Linked DNA regions of Homo sapiens: regions 1, 2, 3, 4, 5 and 6 are each linked to region 7. The links are contacts of gene promoters, found by promoter capture Hi-C in blood cells and fetal thymus (Javierre and others, 2016). All regions are on one chromosome and are shown on one strand. The core of a region is centred on a gene start or on the middle of the fragment in contact, and the rest is flanking DNA. Distances in the headings are between cores, read along the strand shown.

Region 1 (2,835 bases), core at 33-2,532, 960 kb after region 7:
GTTGCCCACTGTTTAAGAAAAAGCCAAGAGACTGCTTTTGAGTGACATTTATCCAGCAGTTAGTAACTTATTTCAGTATCTCCCAGTGAGAAACATGGCACAGTTTCACTTTCACTCTACCCAGCTCTTACTGCCAGACATCCTTTAGAACACGCTCACAAACACTAGCTGGAACTGGGCTGGCATTAATAGCAAGCCAGTTATCAGTGCTGACAAAAGTCTAACAAGCATCGCTTGAATGTCTCTTACTCTGCTACTTACAAAGCAAGGACTGCCTACAGTTACATTTTAACCATAATGCTTACTTATGCTGTGACCACCTTCTGTGACTTCCTTTTTTTTAATTCTCATTACTTGGAAATAATGTTTTAAGACATTAGATAACATATTTAAAATTATCACTAGGTACCTCACCTTTTTATTCAAGTACGTTCTTGATCCATGATGGAATACAACCTCAAAAGATACTACTAAAGAAATATGACATTGCACTATGCACATAACACACTTATTTTTTTACAGAGAGCTTCAGAGTTACTAAAGTAACTTAGAGGTGTGCCAGGTCATTTATACTGTTGTAATATTACTCTTGCTAATAAATAATAATAATGCTATCAGTATTTTCTGAAGTCAACCTGGCCAACATGGTGAAACCCTGTATCTACTAAAAATACAAATATTAGCCAAGTATGGTAGCGCATGCCTGTAGTCCCAGCTGAGGCACGGGAGTCACAGGAGCCTAGGAGGCAGAGGTTGCAGTGAGCCGAGATCACGCCACTGCACTCCAGCCTGGGCAACAGAGTGAGACACTGTCTCAAAAAAAAAAAAGGATTTTCTGAAATTAGTAAAGAAAATTATTTTTATTTTTAAATTTCTCATACTTGCTGTCATCTTATGTTTATGTTTGTTTATTTGCCTTAGTGTGGGGCCCTAGATGAGGTGAAGGGTGGGATTAGGGAGAGATGAAGCTGGCAGTGGAGGAAGAAGGGCTCCAAAAAGAGAGACAATAATGTTTAGATCTTAAAGAGGAAGCAGTAATCTTTTAATTTTGAGAGATCTCTGTGATTAGCCTCAGTACTAGAAATTATTTTGGAACTCAGCCAGGCGCGGTGGCTCACATCTGTACTCCCAGCACTTTGGGAGACCGAAGTGGGCAGATGGCTTAAGCCCAGGAGTTCAAGACCAGCCTGGGCAACATGGCAAAACCCTGTCTCTACTAAAAATACAAAAAATTAGCCAGGCATGTGATACGCCCTTGTAGTCCCAGCTTACCTGGGGGACTGAGGTGGGATGATTACCGGAGCCTGGGAGGTTGAGGCTGCAGTAAGCCAAGATCACACCACTGCACCCCAGCCTGGGTGATTAAGGGAGACCCCGTCTCAGAAAAAAAAAAGGGGGGGAAACTTAAAAGCATCAGGCTAAACACTAGCATGTCATCAGAGGGGAAAAAAATATTAAAACTGTAGTACCTCAAAAATAAGCCATATATTGTACTGTTTTCTATATAACATTCAAAAGTAAAATGAAAAATGAAATTTCACATTGAGACTCTGTTTTTCATCTTCAAAAAAATGTGTTTAAGTGATACAGGCCAAGTGCAGTGGCTGACTTATTATCCCAGCACTTTGGGAGGCCAAGTGGGACAGATTGCTTTTGAGCCCAGGGGTTTGAGACCAGCCTGGGCAACAGGGCGAAACCCTGCCTCTACAAAAAATAAATAAATAAAAATAAAATTAGCCAGGCATGGTGGCTTGTTCTTGTAGTCCCAGCTACTCAGGGGACTTGAGCCTAGGAGGTCAAGGCTGCAGTAGGCCGTGATTGTGCCACTGCACTCCAGCCTGGGTGACAGAGCGAGACCCTGTCTCAAAAATAATAATAATAGGCCGGGCGTGGTGGGTCACACCTGTAATCCCAGCACTTCGAGAGGCCAAAGCATGTGGACGACTTGAGGTCAGGAGTTCGAGACCAGCCTGGCCAACATGGGGAAACCCTGTCTCTATTAAAAGTACAAAAAATTGGCCGGGCGCGGTAGCTCACGCATGTAATCCCTACACTTTGGGAGGCTGAGGTGGGTGGATCACCTGAGGTCAGGAATTCAAGACCAGCCTGGCCAACATGATGAAACCGTCTCTACTAAAAATACAAAAAATTAGCTGGATTTAGTGGCGCACGACTGTAATCCCAGCTACTCAGGAGGCTGAGGCAGGAGAATCGCTTGAACCTAGGAGGTGGAGGTTGCAGTGAGCCAAGATCGTGACACTGTACCCCAGCCTGGGCAACAAGAGCAAAACTCGATCTCAGAAAAAAAATACAAAAAATTAGCTAGGCGTAGTGACGCACACCTGTAATCCCAGCTACTCGGGAGGCTGAGACAGGAGAATCCCTTGAACCCAGGAGGCGAAGGTTGTGGTGAGCCGAGCCAAGATCGTGCCATTGCTTTCCAGCCTAGGTGACAGAGCAAAACTTCATCTCCACAAACAAACAAACAAACAAAAAAACCCATAATCCCAGCATTTTGGGAGGCCAACACAGGTGAATTACCTGAGGTCAGGAGTTTGACACCAGCCTGGCCAACATAGTGAAACCCTGTCTCTACTAAAATTACAAAAATTAGCCAGGTGTGGTGGCAGGTGCCTGTAATCCCAGCTACTTGGGAGGCTGAGGCAGGAGAATCGCTTGAACCCAGGGGGCGGAGGTTGCAGTGAGCCGAGATCACACCATTGCACTCTAGCCTGGGTGACAAGAGCGAAATTCCATCTCCAAAAAAAAAAAAAGAAAACAGTATTTTAGTTTTAACTTTTTATGTAACCATTTTCCTGAAACCTTATCTAAAAT
Region 2 (3,060 bases), core at 50-2,549, 790 kb after region 7:
TACTGTCTAACTTAGTATTTCTTTGCAGCCAGGTGCGGTGGCTCGCCTGTAATCCTAACACATTTGGAGGCCGAAGTGGGAGGATTGCGTGAGGACTAGGAGTTTGAACCAGCCTGGTCGATCTAGCGAGACTTATTCTCTACAGAAAAGAAATTAGACGGGCACCTTCGCGCTCGGCGCCTGTAGTCCCAGCACTTTGAGAGGCTCGGGCAAGAGGATCCCTTGAGCCCTGGAAGGTCGAGGCTGCAGTAAGCTGTGATCGCATCACTACACTCCAGCCTAAGCGGCAGACCCTGGCTCAAAAAAAAAAAAAAAAAAATTCTTTGCTATTTACAATAGGGATATTTTCCCAAGCCCCCATGGTACTTACTATAATCATTTTTGGTCTGCTTTAGTGTTAGTTACAGTCTCTTTAGATGTAAAGGCAAGACAGTAAGGATTATGTTTTATTCATCATGTATGCTGTGTCTCTATTAGCTGTACATAGTGAATATTTGTTAAATTGACTCTCAGGGTAATAAAAGATTACTAGTTAAATCATCCAATAGTTTGAGTGGCAAAATAGGATTTGACTTTGTTCTTATTTTCTTTCAGACAAGGTGTTGCTCTGTCACCCAGACTGGAGTGTAGTGGTGAGATCACGGCGCACTGCAGCCTTGACTTCCTGGGCTCAAGCCATCCTCCCACCACGGAGTAGCTGGAACTGCAAGCAGCAGCACCATGCCCAGCTAATTTTTTTTTTTTTTTTGGAGACAGAGTCTCGCTCTGTCGCCCAGGCTGGACTGCAGTGGCGCGATCTCAGCTCACTGCAACCTCCGCCTCCCGGGTTCAAGTGAGTCTCCTGCCTCAGCCTCCCAAGTAGCTGGGATTACAGGTGCATGCCACCATGCCCAGCTAATTTTTGTATTTTTTTAGTAGAGACCGGGTTTCACCATGTTAGCCAGGCTGGTCTCGAACCCCTGACCTTGTGATCCGCCCACCTCAGCCTCCCAAAGTGCTGGGAGTACAGGTGTGAGCCACCGCGCCTGGCCTTTTTTTTTTTTTTTTTTTTTAAATAGAGATTGGGGTTTCACTGTGTTTCCCAGGCCGGTCTTGAACTCCTGAGCTTGAGCAGTCCTCCTGCCTTGGCCTCCCAAAGGGTTGGAATTACAGGCGTGAGCCACTGCATCCAGCCAGGATTTGACTTTGAGTCTTTTGGGGACAGCCTAAGCTTTTTGAAAGCTACTCAACCAAGTTGACTGGGAATATATGTGACTTTTACTTCCCCCTTCAGAGAAATTTATGAAAAAAATCCACAATATTCAACTGCTCGGCCCTGGGTTTTGATTACTGGGCCCCTTATTTTGGTTTCCCATAATCTTGATCTTCTGGTATTTCACAAAGATGAAGAAAGCTTATCCATACATGCATGCGATACAACTCAAAAATCTGTTCTATCCAGTCCAGTGAAGAAATTATATTCTATATTTCTAGAATTATAGAATTCTATTCTGTGTATTTTTTGAGACGGAGTTTCACTCTTGTTGCCCAGGCTGGAGTGCAGTGGCACGATCTTGGCTCATTGCAACCTCCGCCTCCCAGGTTCAAGCGATTCTCCTGCCTCAGCCTCCCGAGTAGTTGGGATTACAGGCATGCACCACCATGCCTGGCTAATTTTATATTTTTAATAGAGACAGGGTTTCTCCATGTTGGTCGGGCTGGTCTCGAACTCCTGACCTCAGGTGATCCGCTCGCCTTGACCTCCCAACGTGCTGGGATTACAGGTATGACCCACTGTGCCCAGCTAGGTAGCAGATACTTATAGAAGAAAACAGACTGCGAAAGCAGCTGTGGTTGCAGATAGTTTTAAAATTATCTTCATTGCTGTTCAGTGCTGTTTTTAACCATTTAGAGATCACTTACTGCTTTGAGAGTTTTTTAAAATATGAGGACATGGTGGGACAAGGTGGCTCACGCCTATAATCCCAGCACTTTGGGAGACCAAGACGGAAGGAATGCAAGCCCAGGAGTTTCAGATCAGCGACTGCGCCATTTGCACTCCAGCCTGGGCAACAAGAGCGAAACTCCGTCTCAAAAAAACAAAAGGAGGCCGGGTGCGGTGGCTTACGCCTGTAATCCCAGCGCTTTGGGAGGCCGAGGTGGGTGGATCATCTGAGGTCAGAAGTTTGAGATCAGCCTGGCCAACATGGTGAAACCCCATCTCTACTAAAAATACAAAAATTAGCTAGGCATGGTGGCGGGCGCCTGTAATCCCAGCTAGTCGGGAGGCTGATGCAGGAGAACCACTTGAACCCGGGAGGCAGAGGTTGCAGTGAGCCAAGATGGCGCCATTATACTCCAGCCTGGGCGACAGAGCGAGATTCTGTCTAAAACAAAACAAAACAAACAAAAAAAAGAAATTAACAAGACCCCACTCTAAAGTTTTTTCAGTAGGAAAAAAAACGTTTTGGAGAACACCGTTAAGAAACGTATCATCTTGGGTGGGCGCGGTGGCTCATGCCTGTAATCCCAACACTTTGTGAGGTCAAGGCGGGCAGATTACGAGGTCAGGAGATCGAGACCATCCTGACTAACACGGTGAAACACCCCTCTCTACTAAAAATACAAAAAATTAGCTGGGTGCAGTGGCACGTGCCTGTAGTCCCAGCTACTCGGGAGGCTGAAGTAGGAGGATCACTTGAACCTGGGAGGCAGAAGTTGCAGTGAGCCAAGATTGCACCACTGCACTCCAGCCTGGGGCAACAGAGTGAGACTCCGTCTCAAAAAAAGAAAAAAAAGAAAAGAAAAACATACCATCTTAATATGTCAATTGTAAACTAACTTAGTAAAGTCTAGTTTAGGTGACCAGAAGTAGACATAGGTCAATTCTACTAATTCAATAAAATCCTCAAACCCTCTTAAGAAGGTAGGACGTAGAACAAGAAGGCAGGCGAGACAGAGAGGCACAAAGTCATAAATCTCGACTCCACCAAAATTTGGAATAATTCCCCTATTCAGCACTGTTTCTATAACATACTCAGTATGTGATATTAAGAGCTCCTCAAAAAACAGGGTTTCATG
Region 3 (3,006 bases), core at 151-2,650, 990 kb after region 7:
TCCCCTCTTCCAAAGAAAAAACAATCACTGTAATATCTAGTTTCTAGTTTCAAGGAGTGAACTATCAAAGTATAAAACAGTAGAGACATCCAGCAGGATACTGACTGTTTGTGTCCATTTAATATGACAATTAGAAGGTCACTTCTTGGAAGAGTCATTTGGCTTTGCTCCCTCAATTTCCTTTCCACTTCACCTCACTTCAGTCTGGTTTTGGAATGCTAACACTCACTCTACCCAAACTGCTCTTGTTGTGGAGTCTGTGGTATCCACCAATGGGTTCTTTCTGCCTGCTGCACAAACAAAATTAATTGACAGAAACCATGGCATTGCAGTAAAGAAAGTTTAATTGACGCGAGGCTGGCCATGCCACGTGGGAGACAGAGTTGTTACTCAAATCCATCTCACCAAAGGCTCAGAGGTTAGGGGGTTTTTCAGATAGTTTGACAGGTACGGGGCCAGGGAATGGGGAGTGCTGACTGGTTGGGTCAGAGGTGAAATCATAAGAAGTAGAAGCTGTCCTCTTGCACTGAGTTGGTTCGTGGATCCCCAGGTTGATGAGTCAGGGTGGGGCCATCCACTTGTCAGAAATGCAAAAACCTGAAAAGACATCTCAAAAGGCCAATCTTAGGTTCTACAACAGTGATGTTATCTGCAGGAATGATTGGGGAAGATGCGAATTTGTGACCTGTGGAATAATGGGTGGTAATCATTTAACTACAATTACAACTTAGAAGAATTCAGGACCCTCTCATTCTCCTAACTTGGTGGCCTTTCATTTAGTTTTAAAAGGGCAGTTTTGGGGAAGGGTTATTATCATTTAAACTATAAACTAAATTTCTCCCAAAGTTAGTTTGTCCTGTGCCCAGGAATGAGCAAAGACAGCCAGTCTGTGAGGCTAGAATCAAGATAGGAGTAAACCATGTCAGATTTCTCTTACTGTCAAAATTTTGCAAAGGCGGTTTCAACAGAAATTAACATGTCTAGGATAGTTGCTTTTTCTATTATTTTTTCTATCACTGCATTTACTTTCATTCTGCCTTATGCTTTAACTAGGTAATTTTTTTTTTTTTTTTAGTTTTGGCGGTATCAACACTATATTCTTCTCTTTGACCACCGCATGCTGCCTACGTGGTAGACTCTCAATACGCATGGAACTGAACCTCTTACAGGATTTGTAACTCACTTCTGTGGTATCTAGTAAACTGGAACACGCGCTTTCCCTGGGCTGCTCTGTCATCCCAGGTTTCAGCACTCGGAAATCGCTTGGGCCCCCGCCCAGAGGCGGGGCTTGGGTGGGCTGACCACTCCTCTGGCCTCCAATACTGTCGCTGACATTCTCGTCTATGCTCCAGCAGCCGTACCTCACTCCGGTGGAGGCGGGACTTCCTACAGCACTTCCGGCCAGAGCCTCAAGCTTCGCTGCTGGGCAGTTGGCTGGAGGGGCTGCTGCTGGGAACACCTGGAGTCTCCGCGGGCAGGTGAGCTTCAGAGGTTCGGGGAGCTTTCGGAACGAGCATTCCTGGCCGGTGCGTCACCCTGCAGTGCTCTTGGCCTTTTCTTCCTTTCCTGGAATCTTCCCAGATTGCCAGAGCCGGGCGTTGCCTGCTCCGTGCGCTGGGAGGCGGTCCAGCCGGCTGGGTTGGGGCCACCCTGCGCCTCCTGGAAGGCCTTATTTAGGAGTAGCCGCACGTGATCTCTAGCATTTTAAGCTTCTCTCAGAGAATTGGCATGTCACTTTGGAAGAGGTGAAAATGGTACAGGCGACCAACGACTTTTACAAGGTGTCACCTTAGAGGAACAGCCTCGTCCTTCCGAATCAGTTAACATTGGTGATGACAGAGAAATAACGTTAAATAGGTGGAGAGCACTTAAAGTAACTGTTTGTTCTTTTGAGACAGTCTTGCTCTGTCGCCCAGGCTGGACTGCAGTGGCGCGGATCTCTGATCTCGGCTTACTGCAACCTCCGCCTCCTGGGTTCAAGCGATTCTGCTGCCTCAGCCTCCCGAGTAGCTGGGATTACAGGCGCGTGCCACCACGCTCGGCTAATTTTTGTATTTTTAGTAGAGACAGGGTTTCTCCATGTTGGCCAGGCTGCTCTCGAACTCCTGATCTCAGATGATCCACCCGCCTCGGCCTCCCAAACTGCTGGGATTACAGGCGTGAGCCACCGCGCCCGGCCTAAAGTAACTATTTTTACTTGGTGTTTACTACCAAATGGGGACTGTTCTAAGTTGTGGGTGGATCCAAATGATGGTGTGACAGCCTTATCCTCAGAGAAGCAGTCCTGGCAGGAAGACGGGGTTAACAAATTGCCAAACTGTTAGAGAAAGTTAGTGGAGGTAGAGATGAAGAGAGAAGACTTTTCTTTTCTCTGGCATTAATTTAGCCACGGCCGCTGTGTTTTGATACTTGCTTCAAACGTTTTTCATATTCTTAAGTTTTAACTTTTCTGTATGCTCATATTTTATATACTGTTGTAAACAGCATATCTCTGGGTTTTTTTTTTAATCTAAGTGGACAGCCTGCTTTTTTTTTTTTTTTTTTTTTTTGATATGGAGTCTTGCTCTGTCGCCCAAGGCTGGTGTGCAGTGGCCCAATCTCAGCTCACTGCAACCACGCCTCCCAGGTTCAAGCATATCTCCCACCTCAGCCTCCCGAGTAGTTGGGATGACAGGTGTGTGCCACCATGCCCAGCTAATTTTTTTTTTTTTGTATTTGTAGTAGAGATGGGGTTTCGCCATGTTGGCCAGACTGGTTTTGAAGGCCTGACTTCAGGTGATCCACCTGCTTCAGCCTCCCAAAGTGCTGGGGCTACAGGTGTGAGCCACCGTGCCCAGCCCAGTCTGCCTTTTGACTAGCAGGTTTATTGGATTTACATTCATTGTCACTACTGAAATATTTGTCTAGATGAAAATCTTTGGTATCATCCCTGATTAATCTCTTCCATATATATCAGCAAATCCTATGGACTCTCCACCTTTAAAATCTGTCCACACTCCCAGGCTC
Region 4 (2,789 bases), core at 169-2,668, 730 kb after region 7:
TGCCTTGGCTACCAGGAAGCTCAGCGCTAAACTCTGGGTTAATTACAGCAGTTTTCCTTAGCCTCAGTTTTCTTCTCCCTGCATTACTGCAAATCCTTTCTGGAAGTAGGTAGGAAGACAGCATTTGTGATTTTCTTGCTACCTATCTATTCCCCCTGTTTTGACAGCTGGACACCAAATTCCCTCCAGGAAACTATCCTTCTCCTACTCTTAGCCCGTGTGCTTGGGACAGAGGGTTCCAACTCCATCTCAGGAGTGACGCATGTGAGATGGGTGTGAGTCAAGCAGTTCTGCCAGCTGCCTTGCCACAGTGCTTCAATTTTAGGCAGATCTATGAGCCAACTGGAGCCAAAGAGACGCAAAGAACAGTTTGTCAGGAATCACAGGATAGAAATTGTTGCCACTAGACTTGAAATTGGAAGGACATGAGTCTGAAGCTACCACAGCTGTATTGGGACCAGGAGGGAAGCATCTGCCCAAAACTACAGCCCAATCAAGAGGTGAGACCTGAAGGATGAAGAGAGAGAAAGAAACCAGATCCAGCTGTACCTGAAGCCCACCCTGCTGTCAAACAACAAAGTCCCCTTCTGCTTCAGTTTGCCTGGGTCTATAAGCATGGACAAAACACCTTACTTTGCTTTCTCTTACTCTATGAAGGGTACGTGGTTATGGCCAAATATGTAAAAAATACAGGAAAGTATAAGTAAGAAAAATCCGGCCGGGCTCAGTGGTTCATGCCTGTAATCCCAGCACTTTGGGAGGCCAAGGCAGGCAGATCACAAGGTCAGGAATTCGAGACCAGCCTGGGCAATATGGTGAAACCCCGTCTCTCCTAAAAATACAAAAATTGGCTGGGCGCTGTGGCTCATGCCTGTAATCCCAGCACTTTGGTAGGCTGAGATGGGCGGATCACCTGAGGTCAGGAGTTTGAGACCAGCCTGGCCAATATGGTGAAACCTCGTCTCTACTAAATACAAAAATTAGCCAGGCGTGGTGGCAGGCACCTGTAGTCCCAGCTACTGGGGAGGCTGAGGCAGGAGAATCACTTGAACCTGGGAGGCAGAGGTTGCAGTGAGCTGAGATCACGCCACTGCACTCCAGCCTGGGCGACAGGGTGAGACTCCATCTCAAAAAAAAAAAAAAAAAAAATCCATCCATAACCCCATAACCTAGAGATAATGATCAAAGTGAACTTATTGTTCCTAAAATTTACTTTGAAGACAGGAAAACCACCACTCATGAGCACCTTCAAGCATGTCAGTAACCCAAAACCAGATCCCTTCACAAGTTTCTCCATTTAAGCCGCACGACAGGAGTTTGTAGCTCATTTCTGTTTAGCTGTAGAGAGTAGTTCTAGCAGGCTTTTGACTTAGATTTAAGGATTTTTTTTTCTCCTCCCACATTCAGAAGCCATAAATCTGTACTCCAGGAAGCCAGAGGCATAGTATGAGGAGACAATCCCTATTCTGGGCTTGGCCCAGAATCAAACGCCTTTTTGCTAGAACAGCTGAGCTGGCTGAGGGAGCCGCCTGTCTCAGAGGAGCAGCTGGCATTTCAGGTGTGCCTTTTTTTTTTTTTTAATTATACTTTAAGTTCTAGGGTACATGTGCACAACGTGCAGGTTTGTTACATATGTATACATGTGCCGTGTTGGTGTGCTGCACCCATTAACTCGTCATTTACATTAGGTATATCTCCTATGCTATCCCTCCCCCCTCCCCCCACCCCAGGTGAAACCCAGTCTCTACTAGAAATACAAAAATTAGCTGGGCGTGGTGGCTCGTGCCTGTAGTCCCAACTACTTGGGAGGCTGAGACACAAGAATCCCTGGAACCCAGGAGGCGGAGGCTGCAGTGAGCCGAGATCGCGCCACTGCACTCCAGCCTGGGCGACAGAGCGAGATTCCGTCTCAAAAAAAGGAAAAAAAAAAAAAAAGAAGATATTCTCATGCCCTTTGGAAATGAGGCACCTAAGCCTCAGAGAAGTTAAGTGCCCCAGTACGCTGCACATTTAGAACTCAAACCCAAGCCCCTGCTTCTAAAAACCGTGTTCGTTCCGCCACCCCACAGCTGCCCCTCTATTTTTGTAGGGTGATTCTACAGAACTGGGAAGGTAAGGAGTTGTAGAAACCCTCTGCCACATTTTATTCTTTGCCTTTCGTAGAAAAAGATCATACTTACGTTGCTTTGACTCACTCTGAAGATTAACCTGGAATTGCGTCTCTTCTTGGACAAGTCAGAAGTCCTTTCAACTATCCTTTTCAATTATCTTCTCCTGTCTGGTAGTTTCCCATCTAGAATTTTAATTCACGAAGACTGGAAACAGGACTTCACAAAATGTCATCCTGGCACATTTTCCAGGAGGAACGGTTTTATTTATAAACAAATAATCGGAGCATTTTCATTTCGCTATGATGATCGCTGTAATTGGCAGAATCACAGTCGCGCTGGGGCTCGAGGCTCCCGGAGGCCGGGGGGTAGGCACGGCGCGGACGCACCCTAGGATCGCCGCCAGAGGGCGCCAGCGCGCTCCTTCGCGTCTGCTGCTGCCCTGATGAAAACGCTCACAGCGCACGCGGTACAGACGGAGCAAATCCTATGAACTTCTCCAGCCCAGTTTAGAACAAGGGAAAGGGGAGCGCGCGGTACCGGCTGTCCACTCCGCGGTCCTCCTGGCTCAAGTCACCCTGAGTCTTCCCCCAGCTGACAAAGGCGATCGGACGCACAGCCAGGACCCAGAACCGTGGATGGATCCACTTTGCCAATATATTGAAAAAACTGATGCCATGT
Region 5 (3,035 bases), core at 77-2,576, 850 kb after region 7:
ACTTTTGAGACTTTGTCACACTTCTTTATCTATTTCTGGCTTAATTCCCATTTTGCTACTGTTCTTTAGGGACCCATGGATAGGTAAAGGGATTGGCAGGACAGGGTAATAAGTGCATTTATGTGTCCATAGCCACAATATCTGTCAAAATGCTATCAAATTCCTCATTCTACTTGTTACGTGACAGGCGCTATGCTAGGTGCTGGTGATATCAGAGTCAAAAAGACAGCCATAATTACTGATGACATAAAGTTCAGTAAACAAAATTCTATTCTTATTTTTAAGATACTAATTATCTGTCCAAAACTTACCACGTTAATGATAAATAAAAAATACTCACCTCTATCTTCCATAAATTTGTACAATTGCTGAAGAAAGTTCTCCCTTTCTTCTGGAAATGGTTCTATTTCTTCCTAATTTTAATCACAGAAGAATATTATTTTCTTCAATTAAGCATTTTAATAAAACAAGCAGATTTCTTACCAATAGCAAAGACTAGTGTTCATTAAAATACTTCAAAGGCTTTTTACGTAATCAAAGTTACTCTTTTAACACTAAGCTGTTCAAAACCAGGTAAGTCTAGACATTTTATGTTTTATAGAGGAATATGCCTTAAAAAGTATCCCAATAGTTAGAATCCCCACAGTAAAAATTCCCATATGAGAAAAGGGACTAGCAAGACTGTTCGTGGTTTTGTTTTGTTTTGTTTTGTTTTTTTTACCATATGAGAGAGCTATTTTTCAAATCAGGATCACAGGTTCAAGAATACCTACTCTCAACTTATGCGAAACTGGATCAGAGTTAAACATCAAAACTAATTCTATTATTGCTCCTCAAGGTACTATAAAAGTATGGGTCCCATTAGCTGACTGCAAGTATCCTTCATTTTATGCAGCCCCACTGTATATACTTCAAGCTTACATAATCAGTAAAGTGGGGAACAAATTTGATCTACAATACCTGAAGATTCAGACTTAGGGAAATCTTCAAGTAATAAAATAGTTCCCCAATTTATCAATTACAAGGGAAGGACTAGCTTCTTGCTGCTGTGGCCAAGGGCTGTGGCAGCAGGGAGCTGGTCCTGAAGCAACCTGCAAGGAGCAGGGTAGTAGGTTAAGATTGAGGAACTCACCAATTCAATGACTTTCATCCATTCAACAAACACTTGAGCACCTGTAAGTGTAGGTACTATGCCAGGTGCTGAATCAAATAAAAGAAAAAATAGGCTATGGAGCCTACTGTTACAGAACATGATTAGGAGTAACTGCAGAGAAAATGATTCCAAATATACAGCTAGGCTTTACAGTTACTCTGGCTTAAATATACAGATTTGTAACAGTAAAAGTTAGGATATTCAACTGGTAATCTAAATAAATAAAAACATAGCATTTTTCAATTTGGAAAATCATGTGCCTAATGCCACTGCTTTAGCGAGATTGTCTTTTTAATTTAAAAGCTAGTACAACAAAGAAAGGTAATTTTTTTTTTAAAGCCTATGTTGATCAACTATTAGGTTTTCTAATTGGGCAGAGAAAAATAAATGACAACCATTAATTTGCTAATGATGAATCTGTATTTCTCAATTTAAACACACTCCATACATTCAGGTTTTGGTAAGGTGATCAAATACAAATCTAAGGACATCTATTTTCTAGATGTTATCTTAAATGTTCCCATGGTACAATATTTAACTTTAATAAACAGCACAATTTTTCCTATTCCAAAAACATTTAAGGTAAGCTTTTAACTCAAGAAAATGTTTACACTACACTACAGATTTGCTTTTACAAAAACACTTGTGAAAACACTAAGCACCAAAAGGTTTGGTAGCTATTTATCATCTGTTATATTTTACACACTATGACAGACACTTTAAGTATGAATACGAGTAAGACAGCATTCCTAACTTTAAGGAACTTACAAATTCGTGGGGAAGAAAAAATAGACAATAAATATAAATGACAAAAATATGTATAAGGAGCAGTAGTAATTCTTTTTTTGTTTTGTCTTGTTTTTGAGACAGAGTCTTGCTCTGTCGCCCAGGCTGGAGTGCAGTGGTGTCATCTCGGCTCACTGCAACCTCCGCTTCCTGGGTTCAAGCAATCCTGCTGCCTCAGCCTCCCTAGTAGCTGGGATAACAGGCACCTGCCACCACGCCCAGCTAATTTTTTTTTTTTTAGATGGAGTCTGGCTCTGTCACCCAGGCTGGAGTGCAGTGGCGTGATCTCGGCTCACTGCAAGCTCCGCCTCCCGGGTTGACACCATTCTCCTGCCTCAGCCTCCTGAGTAGCTGGGACTACAGGCGTCCACCACCATGCCCGGCTAATTTTTTGGTGTTTTTAGTAGAGACAGGGTTTCACCATGTTAGCCAGGATGGTCTCGATCTCCTGACCTCAGGTGATCTGCCTGCCTTGGCCTCCCAAAGTGCTGGGATTACAGGCGTGAGCCACCGCGCCCAGCCACACCCAGCTAATTTTTGTATTTTTAGTACAGACGGGGTTTCACCATGTTGGCCAGACTGGTCTCAAACTCCTGACCTCAGGTGATCCGCTAGCGTCAGCTTCCCAAAGTGCTGGGATTACAGGCATGACCCACCGTGCCTGCCAGGAGCAGTAGTAGTTTAGACTAGCAAATGAACTGGTGCTTTCCTGAGGTGAGGGAGGTGATGGTTCACAGGTTTCTCTTTAGAGAGATGGCACCTAAGTAGGGTTCTGAAAATTGAACAGGAATGTACCATGCTGACTAAGGAAGGAGGGGAGGAAAAGGTGGTGCCTACAGAGGTACTAGCATATGCAAAGGTGAGTAGCAGCAACATATGTAATTTGACATTGCTATAGCATAAAGTTCAAGGGGGAGGACACAGAAAGGGAAATGATGAGAAAAAATTGAGGCAGGAATTGGACTATAAAGGAGATTCTATATGAAAGCTTAACTTTTACAGTGACAAAAAGCTACTCAGGAGGTTTTTAGCAGCAAGGGAATGATTGCTGATTTTAGCAATTTAAATAGAAAGCAGTCAGGGAGAAGACTGAAGC
Region 6 (3,129 bases), core at 547-3,046, 940 kb after region 7:
GAGCTAGATCATATTCTGTGTCATCACTTGGCAGAAGAGATAGGTTCTGAACTCAAGGGCTCAAATGACCTTTCAAAGTCTCTTCAGGCTATATGGGCCACAGTGTTTCAACGCAAAATTACTTGTGGCAATATAACCAGAGGATTCATTTTTCTCCTACTTTAAAATATTAACTCTTCAAAGCTTTGTACAAAGCCTCTAATTTTCTAATTTATAATACTAATTTTCCTTTCTTTTAGAGATAGAGTCTCGCTCTGTCGCCCAGGCTGGAATCTAGTGGTGCAATCAAGGCTCACTGCAGCCTTGAGCTCCTGGGCTCAAGCTCCTCCTGTCTCAGCCTCCCAAGTAGCTGGAATTACAGGCACAAGCCACCTGTCCAGCTTGACACTAATTTTCAAGCTAGCAAAGTTCTCCCAGAAGAACTAAGTCCACTGTCGTTCATTTTTATGTTTTTTCATATGATTTCTTCTAATTTTTTTTTTTTTTTTTTTTTTGGAGGGGGACAGAGTCTTGCATCTTGCTCTGTCGCCCAGGCTAGAGTGCAGTGACCTGATCTCAGCTCACTGCAACCTCCGCCTCCCAGGTTCAGGCACTTCTCCTGTCTCAGCGCCTGAGTAGCTGGGACCAGAAGCACATGCTACCATGCACAGCTAATTTTTGTATTGTATTTTTAGTAGAGACAGGGTTTCGCTGTGTTGGCCAGGCTGGTCATGAACTCCTCCTGACTTCAAGTGATTCGCCCACCTTGGCCTCCCAAAGTGCTGGGATTACAGGCATGAGCCACCGCTCCCAGCCTGATTTTTTCTAATTTTTAAGAAACAGGGGCTCCCCCTCCCCCTCCCCCTCCCTCTCCCTATCCCTCTCCCCACGGTCTCCCTCTCCCTCTCTTTCCACGGTCTCCCTCTGATGCCGAGCCGAAGCTGGACTGTACTGCTGCCATCTCAGCTCACTGCAACCTCCCTGCCTGATTCTCCTGCCTCAGCCTGCCGAGTGCCCGCGATTGCAGGTGCGCGCTGCCACGCCTGACTGGTTTTTGTATTTTTTTGGTGGAGACGGGGCTTCGCTGTGTTGGCCGGGCTGGTCTCCAGCTCCTAACCGCGAGTGATCCGCCAGCCTCAGCCTCCCGAGGTGCCGGGATTGCAGACGGAGTCTGGTTCACTCAGTGCTCAATGGTGCCCAGGCTGGAGTGCAGTGGCGTGATCTCGGCTCGCTACAACCTCCACCTCCCAGCCACCTGCCTTGGCCTCCCAAAGTGCCGAGAGTGCAGCCTCTGCCCGGCTGCCACCCCATCTGGGAAGTGAGGAGCGTCTCTGCCTGGCCGCCCATCGTCTGGGACGTGAGGAGCCCCTCTGCCTGGCTGCCCAGTCTGGAAAGTGACGAGCGTCTCTGCCCGGCCGCCATCCCATCTAGGAAGTGAGGAGCGCCTCTTCCCGGCCGCCATCCCATCTAGGAAGTGAGGAGCGTCTCTGCCCGGCCGCCCATTGTCTGAGATGTGGGGAGCACCTCTGCCCCGCCGCCCCGTCTGGGATGTGAGGAGCGCCTCTGCCCGGCCGTGACCCCGTCTGGGAGGTGAGGAGCGTCTCTGCCCGGCCGCCCCGTCTGAGAAGTGGGGAGACCCTCCACCTGGCAACCGCCCCATCTGAGAAGTGAGGAGCCCCTCCGCCCGGCAGCCGCCCCATCTGAGAAGTGAGGAGCCCCTCCGCCCGGCAGCCGCCCCATCTGAGAAGTGAGGAGCCCCTCCGCCCGGCAACCACCCCGTCTGGGAAGTGAGGAGCGTCTCTGCCCGGCAGCCACCCGTCCGGGAGGGAGGTGGGGGGGTCAGCCCCCCGCCCGGCCAGCCGCCCCATCCGGGAGGTAAGGGGCGCCTCTGCCCGGCCGCCCCTACTGGAAAGTGAGGAGCCCCTCTGCCCGGCCAGCCGCCCCGTCCGGGAGGGAGGTGGGGGGGTCAGCCCCCCGCCCGGTCAGCCGCCCCGTCCGGGAGGTGAGGGGCGCCTCTGCCCGGCCACCCCTACTGGGAAGTGAGGAGCCCCTCTGCCCGGCCGCCACCCCGTCTGGGAGGTGTACCCAACAGCTCATTGAGAACGGGCCATGATGACAATGGCGGTTTTGTGGAATAGAAAGGGGGGAAAGGTGGGGAAAAGATTGAGAAATCAGATGGTTGCCGTGTCTGTGTAGAAAGAAGTAGACATGGGAGACTTTTCCTTTTGTTCTGTACTAAGAAAAATTCTTCGGCCTTGGGATCCTGTTGATCTGTGACCTTACTTACCCCCAACCCTGTGCTCTCTGAAACATGTGCTGTGTCCACTCAGGGTTAAATGGATTAAGGGAGGTGCAAGATGTGCTTTGTTAAACAGATGCTTGAAGGCAGCATGCTCCTTAAGAGTCATCACCACTCCCTAATCTCAAGTACCCAGGGACACAAACACTGCGGAAGGCCACAGGGTCCTCTGCCTAGGAAAACCAGAGACCTTTGTTCACTTGTTTATCTGCTGACCTTCCCTCCACTATTGTCCTATGACCCTGCCAAATCCCCCTCTGTGAGAAACACCCAAGAATGATCAATAAAAAAAAATAAAAAAAAAGAAACAGGGAAATTTACATAAAAATGTTTCATACCATGATACAAGTAAATTCTAAATTTAAAACTTTTTCAACAAAGTAAGTAGGCAAAAGGTTTGTAAACTACACTTACTATTCAATAAAGCCATCAAAAAGTCACTAAATGGCAACAACTTTATTATTTATTTATAATAACTAGTAGAGAGGCAGCATGGTTCAGTTTACTAACAAAAGAACAGGCTCTGTGATCAGTTTAATGTGTGCCTGTGGGCAAATCACTCAACATCTTTACACCTGCTTCTTCGACCATAAAAAGGGAAAAATGTTGCTGACCTGCCTCAAAGGGATGTTATTAGATATAACTAATGATTATGGAACTTTAAAAACGTAATGTGCCATATAACTGTACGGTTAAAGAATTCCTTATAAACTATATATTCTGACTTTGAGCATATGCTGGGGACACTTCCTATAGAGATCCATTCCAAAATTAACGTGTTTTTGATTTTGTTTTTAAAACGGGGTCTTGCTCTGTCACCTAGGCTGGAGTACAGTGGCTGCAATCACAGC
Region 7 (2,815 bases), core at 316-2,815:
CCCTGTAAGTGCTGCTTCAGTTTCATCCCACAGGTGTTGCTATTGTTATTTTATGGTTCAGTTCAAAATATTTTCTCAATACCATTGACTCTGTCTCTGTGTTATTCAGGCTTGTTTTTACAGTTCTTTATTGATTTCTATCTTAAATGCACTGTAGTAAAAAATGACAATTATTTCAATTTTCAAAATTTCTTGAGTTGCTTTATAACTAAGTATGTGGTTGACTGTGGTGATGTGTCTGCTTTCAAAAAACTGTACATTCTGATTTTGGTCGTGTTGTTCTGTACATATTAATTGCGTCATTTTTACATCATGTTATTCACGTTTCCTATATCCTTAACTTTTCTCTTGCTAGTCTTAACGATTAGTGAGAAAGTCCTGTTAAAATTACCCAATATGACCAGGCATTTTTTTTCTTTGTAATTCTGTCACTTCACTTTGTTTCATATGTATTTTTCATTAGGTACTTATAAATTTTAAATTTAAAACACATTTCCTTTTTAGACTCAGAAGTCATCTAAGACTCTTTCCTTTCATTCCTTTTATATCCCATCAGTCATATTTAAAAGATATCTATATGTAAACTGACGTCAATAGACATGATGTAAAAGAAGGGGGTGGCTCTGGTAAAGCTAAAGTAACTCCACTATGAGAGTGCATTAACTATGGGGGAAATACTTTCTATATTGCAGAACACATATTTGGTGGTACGTAGCCTCACATCGCCACCCGGAAAAGTCTGCATATATTGAATTTGGAATGGATCAAACTGCACTGAGTGCAAAATTGTAAATTGCATCTTATATAAATGTTTTAGAACTAGATGATGGAGCAGATGGGATCTATTAAGAGAACGGGGTGCCAGATGACTGACCATAAACATGCTTTTTAATAAAGACTCTGCTGAGAGATTAACTCATATATTTTCTAAAATTTTTATTTCTTGTTCATTTTGTTTCTAAGATATTCACTCACATATTAAAAATAACAACGTCTCAAAACATTTGAAGCAACTCTCTTCATCCCTTTTAAAAATACCTTGCTGTTTCGGGGGTTAAAAAAAGCCACAAGGGAGATTAAAACAATACAAATATTTATTTTCCCAACTCCCCTGCCATGGGTTCTGGGACGTCACCGCCTCTTTCTGGGGCCCGTTTCATCCTTTTCTTTTAATCCAAGAAGCGATGGTGTTGTGCGCCTGTAGTCCCAGCTACCTGGGAGGCAGGCTGAGGTGGGAGGATCTTTTGGGTCCAGGATTTTGAGGCTGCAGTAAGCCGTGTTCTCACCACTGCACTCGAGACTGGGCGGAAGAGCGAGACACTGTATCAAAAACAAAACAAAACAAAACGAGAAGGCATCGCGGCTCTGTAACACTCCGTCCAGCTCTCGCACTCTCAGATGCAAACTTCCACACAAACTCCTCGGCTCGCCTTGTCCCGCGGGACTAGCATATCAAGCCTTCCGGGACACACCGTGCGATGATATATACGTATATACCCCTCTTGCCCTTGAAGGCCGGAAGTCGGTCTTACAGATAAAAGCGAAACAGGAAGTCCCGCCCCTCTATGGAAAGTAAATGGTAGCTCGGAAGGGTCAAAAGAGTCCGCGGTTTCGCCGCGTGAGTTGCTTTTTGCGGCTGGGGAGGTCTACGCTTCTAGAGCTTGAGCCAGCGGGGCGACCCTGCAGTGGCAGGACTCGGCACCGCGCCCTCCACCGCCGGTTGGTGGCCTGCGTGACAGTTTCCTCCCGTCGACATCGAAAGGAAGCCGGACGTGGGCGGGCAGAGAGGTCGGCTTGCTGATGGGTCCGGGTGGGGCGCGCGTGGACTATGGGCCCGGGAGGTCCCTTACTGTCCCCGAGCCGCGGGTTCCTCTTGTGCAAAACGGGGTGGCACTCCAATCGCCTGCTTGGTGATTGTGGCCCCCACACACCTGTTTCTACAGCGCTTAGGTTCGAACAGTAACCCTGTAAACTAGGCACTGCTGTCCCCGCTTTACTGGTGGGAAACGGGCTCGGAGAGAATAAATGAGCTGCCCTAAGCGACTGGGACAGAACCACAGTTCTCAGCCGGGCTTTCTGAGCCCACGCTGCCGCCCCAGCAGGGATCAAATCACACAGTGTGAGATAAGCCTCAAGAGCGGGTGGCCTTATGCTGCCACTGAGAACTGATTGGGTTCAGTTGCCTCATCAAAATCCCTAAGCATGGTTTTGTTTTGTTTTTGTTTTTTTTTTTTTTTTTAGTTTTAAAGGAAGAGGAGATTGACGGTTTTCCTCTTTCCTTATCTTCTCTTCAGATTACAAAGTTCATTGTTAATCTCAAATATTATTTTGGCCAACAGCTTCATCGCAGTAGGAATGGCAGCCCCATCTATGAAGGAAAGACAGGTCTGCTGGGGGGCCCGGGATGAGTACTGGAAGTGTTTAGATGAGAACTTAGAGGATGCTTCTCAATGCAAGAAGTTAAGAAGCTCTTTCGAATCAAGTTGTCCCCAACAGTGGGTAAGTCACACTTTGATGTGTTTCTCTTCCCTGTTAAGATACATCGAGCTTATACTGTGAGTGGTAGGCTGACATGAAGCGCTCTCTGAGGCATGTCAATTAACAGTTTCTTTGAGGCGCAGAGAAAACCTTGCCTGGTAATTCAGCCTTATTTGACGCACTTACATCAGCTAGATCTTTGGAGAATGTCAACTGACACATTAAAGAGCATCGAAAAACACAACAAACATATGAACAGTAACCAAAAAATTCCAGTTCATTTCACTGGTAGACTTTTCCAGGATCTTCTGAAGGGGTAGTATTTAATCTTGGGCAG

Evidence for each region. Contacts are between HindIII fragments. The CHiCAGO score rates a contact against its expected background, and 5 or more counts as called.
Region 1: a fragment that was not itself captured here is called in contact with the fragment with the promoter of COA6 in region 7 in 1 of 17 cell types (neutrophils); the score reaches 5.3 in neutrophils.
Region 2: a fragment that was not itself captured here is called in contact with the fragment with the promoter of COA6 in region 7 in 2 of 17 cell types (erythroblasts and total B cells); the score reaches 6.6 in erythroblasts.
Region 3: a contact is called between the fragment with the promoter of TBCE here and the fragment with the promoter of COA6 in region 7, in 4 of 17 cell types (neutrophils, total B cells, M2 macrophages and 1 more). The highest score is 8.6, in neutrophils.
Region 4: a fragment that was not itself captured here is called in contact with the fragment with the promoter of COA6 in region 7 in 1 of 17 cell types (neutrophils); the score reaches 5.5 in neutrophils.
Region 5: a fragment that was not itself captured here is called in contact with the fragment with the promoter of COA6 in region 7 in 1 of 17 cell types (activated CD4 T cells); the score reaches 5.4 in activated CD4 T cells.
Region 6: a contact is called between a fragment that was not itself captured here and the fragment with the promoter of COA6 in region 7, in 1 of 17 cell types (neutrophils). The highest score is 6.7, in neutrophils.

What each region holds. Positions count from the first base shown.
Region 1 is chr1:235,337,001-235,339,835 of GRCh38, forward strand. All of the region lies in intron 2 of GGPS1 (geranylgeranyl diphosphate synthase 1), which reads left to right. Among named protein-coding and RNA genes, the nearest start is that of GGPS1, 9.8 kb to the left of the region's middle. The HindIII fragment of the contact is 7,848 bases long and covers 1-2,835 here.
Region 2 is chr1:235,161,959-235,165,018 of GRCh38, forward strand. No RefSeq gene overlaps it. Among named protein-coding and RNA genes, the nearest start is that of RBM34, 2.2 kb to the left of the region's middle. The HindIII fragment of the contact is 183 bases long and covers 1,209-1,391 here.
Region 3 is chr1:235,366,027-235,369,032 of GRCh38, forward strand. It overlaps TBCE (tubulin folding cofactor E), which reads left to right and starts at 1,401. Exons shown (of 17, transcript NM_003193.5): 1 at 1,401-1,478. It overlaps LOC124904559 (a long non-coding RNA gene), which reads right to left and starts at 1,394. Exons shown (of 2, transcript XR_007066957.1): 1 at 1,184-1,394; 2 at 327-597. RefSeq lists enhancers at 1,108-1,821, 1,361-1,700. The HindIII fragment of the contact is 3,498 bases long and covers 1-1,412 here.
Region 4 is chr1:235,101,850-235,104,638 of GRCh38, forward strand. No RefSeq gene overlaps it. Among named protein-coding and RNA genes, the nearest start is that of SNORA14B, 25 kb to the right of the region's middle. RefSeq lists a silencer at 2,431-2,600. The HindIII fragment of the contact is 9,082 bases long and covers 1-2,789 here.
Region 5 is chr1:235,224,363-235,227,397 of GRCh38, forward strand. It overlaps ARID4B (AT-rich interaction domain 4B), which reads right to left. Exons shown (of 24, transcript NM_016374.6): 12 at 341-413. Among named protein-coding and RNA genes, the nearest start is that of MIR4753, 36 kb to the left of the region's middle. The HindIII fragment of the contact is 824 bases long and covers 915-1,738 here.
Region 6 is chr1:235,307,612-235,310,740 of GRCh38, forward strand. The region is part of intron 2 of ARID4B (AT-rich interaction domain 4B); the gene reads right to left. Among named protein-coding and RNA genes, the nearest start is that of ARID4B, 19 kb to the right of the region's middle. The HindIII fragment of the contact is 3,231 bases long and covers 182-3,129 here.
Region 7 is chr1:234,371,891-234,374,705 of GRCh38, forward strand. COA6 (cytochrome c oxidase assembly factor 6) reads left to right here and starts at 1,566. Exons shown (of 3, transcript NM_001206641.3): 1 at 1,566-1,788; 2 at 2,340-2,499. The coding sequence starts at 1,577. COA6-AS1 (COA6 antisense RNA 1) reads right to left here and starts at 1,703. Exons shown (of 2, transcript NR_125961.1): 1 at 1,533-1,703; 2 at 917-1,320. RefSeq lists enhancers at 754-1,578, 1,400-1,949. The HindIII fragment of the contact is 9,162 bases long and covers 1-2,815 here.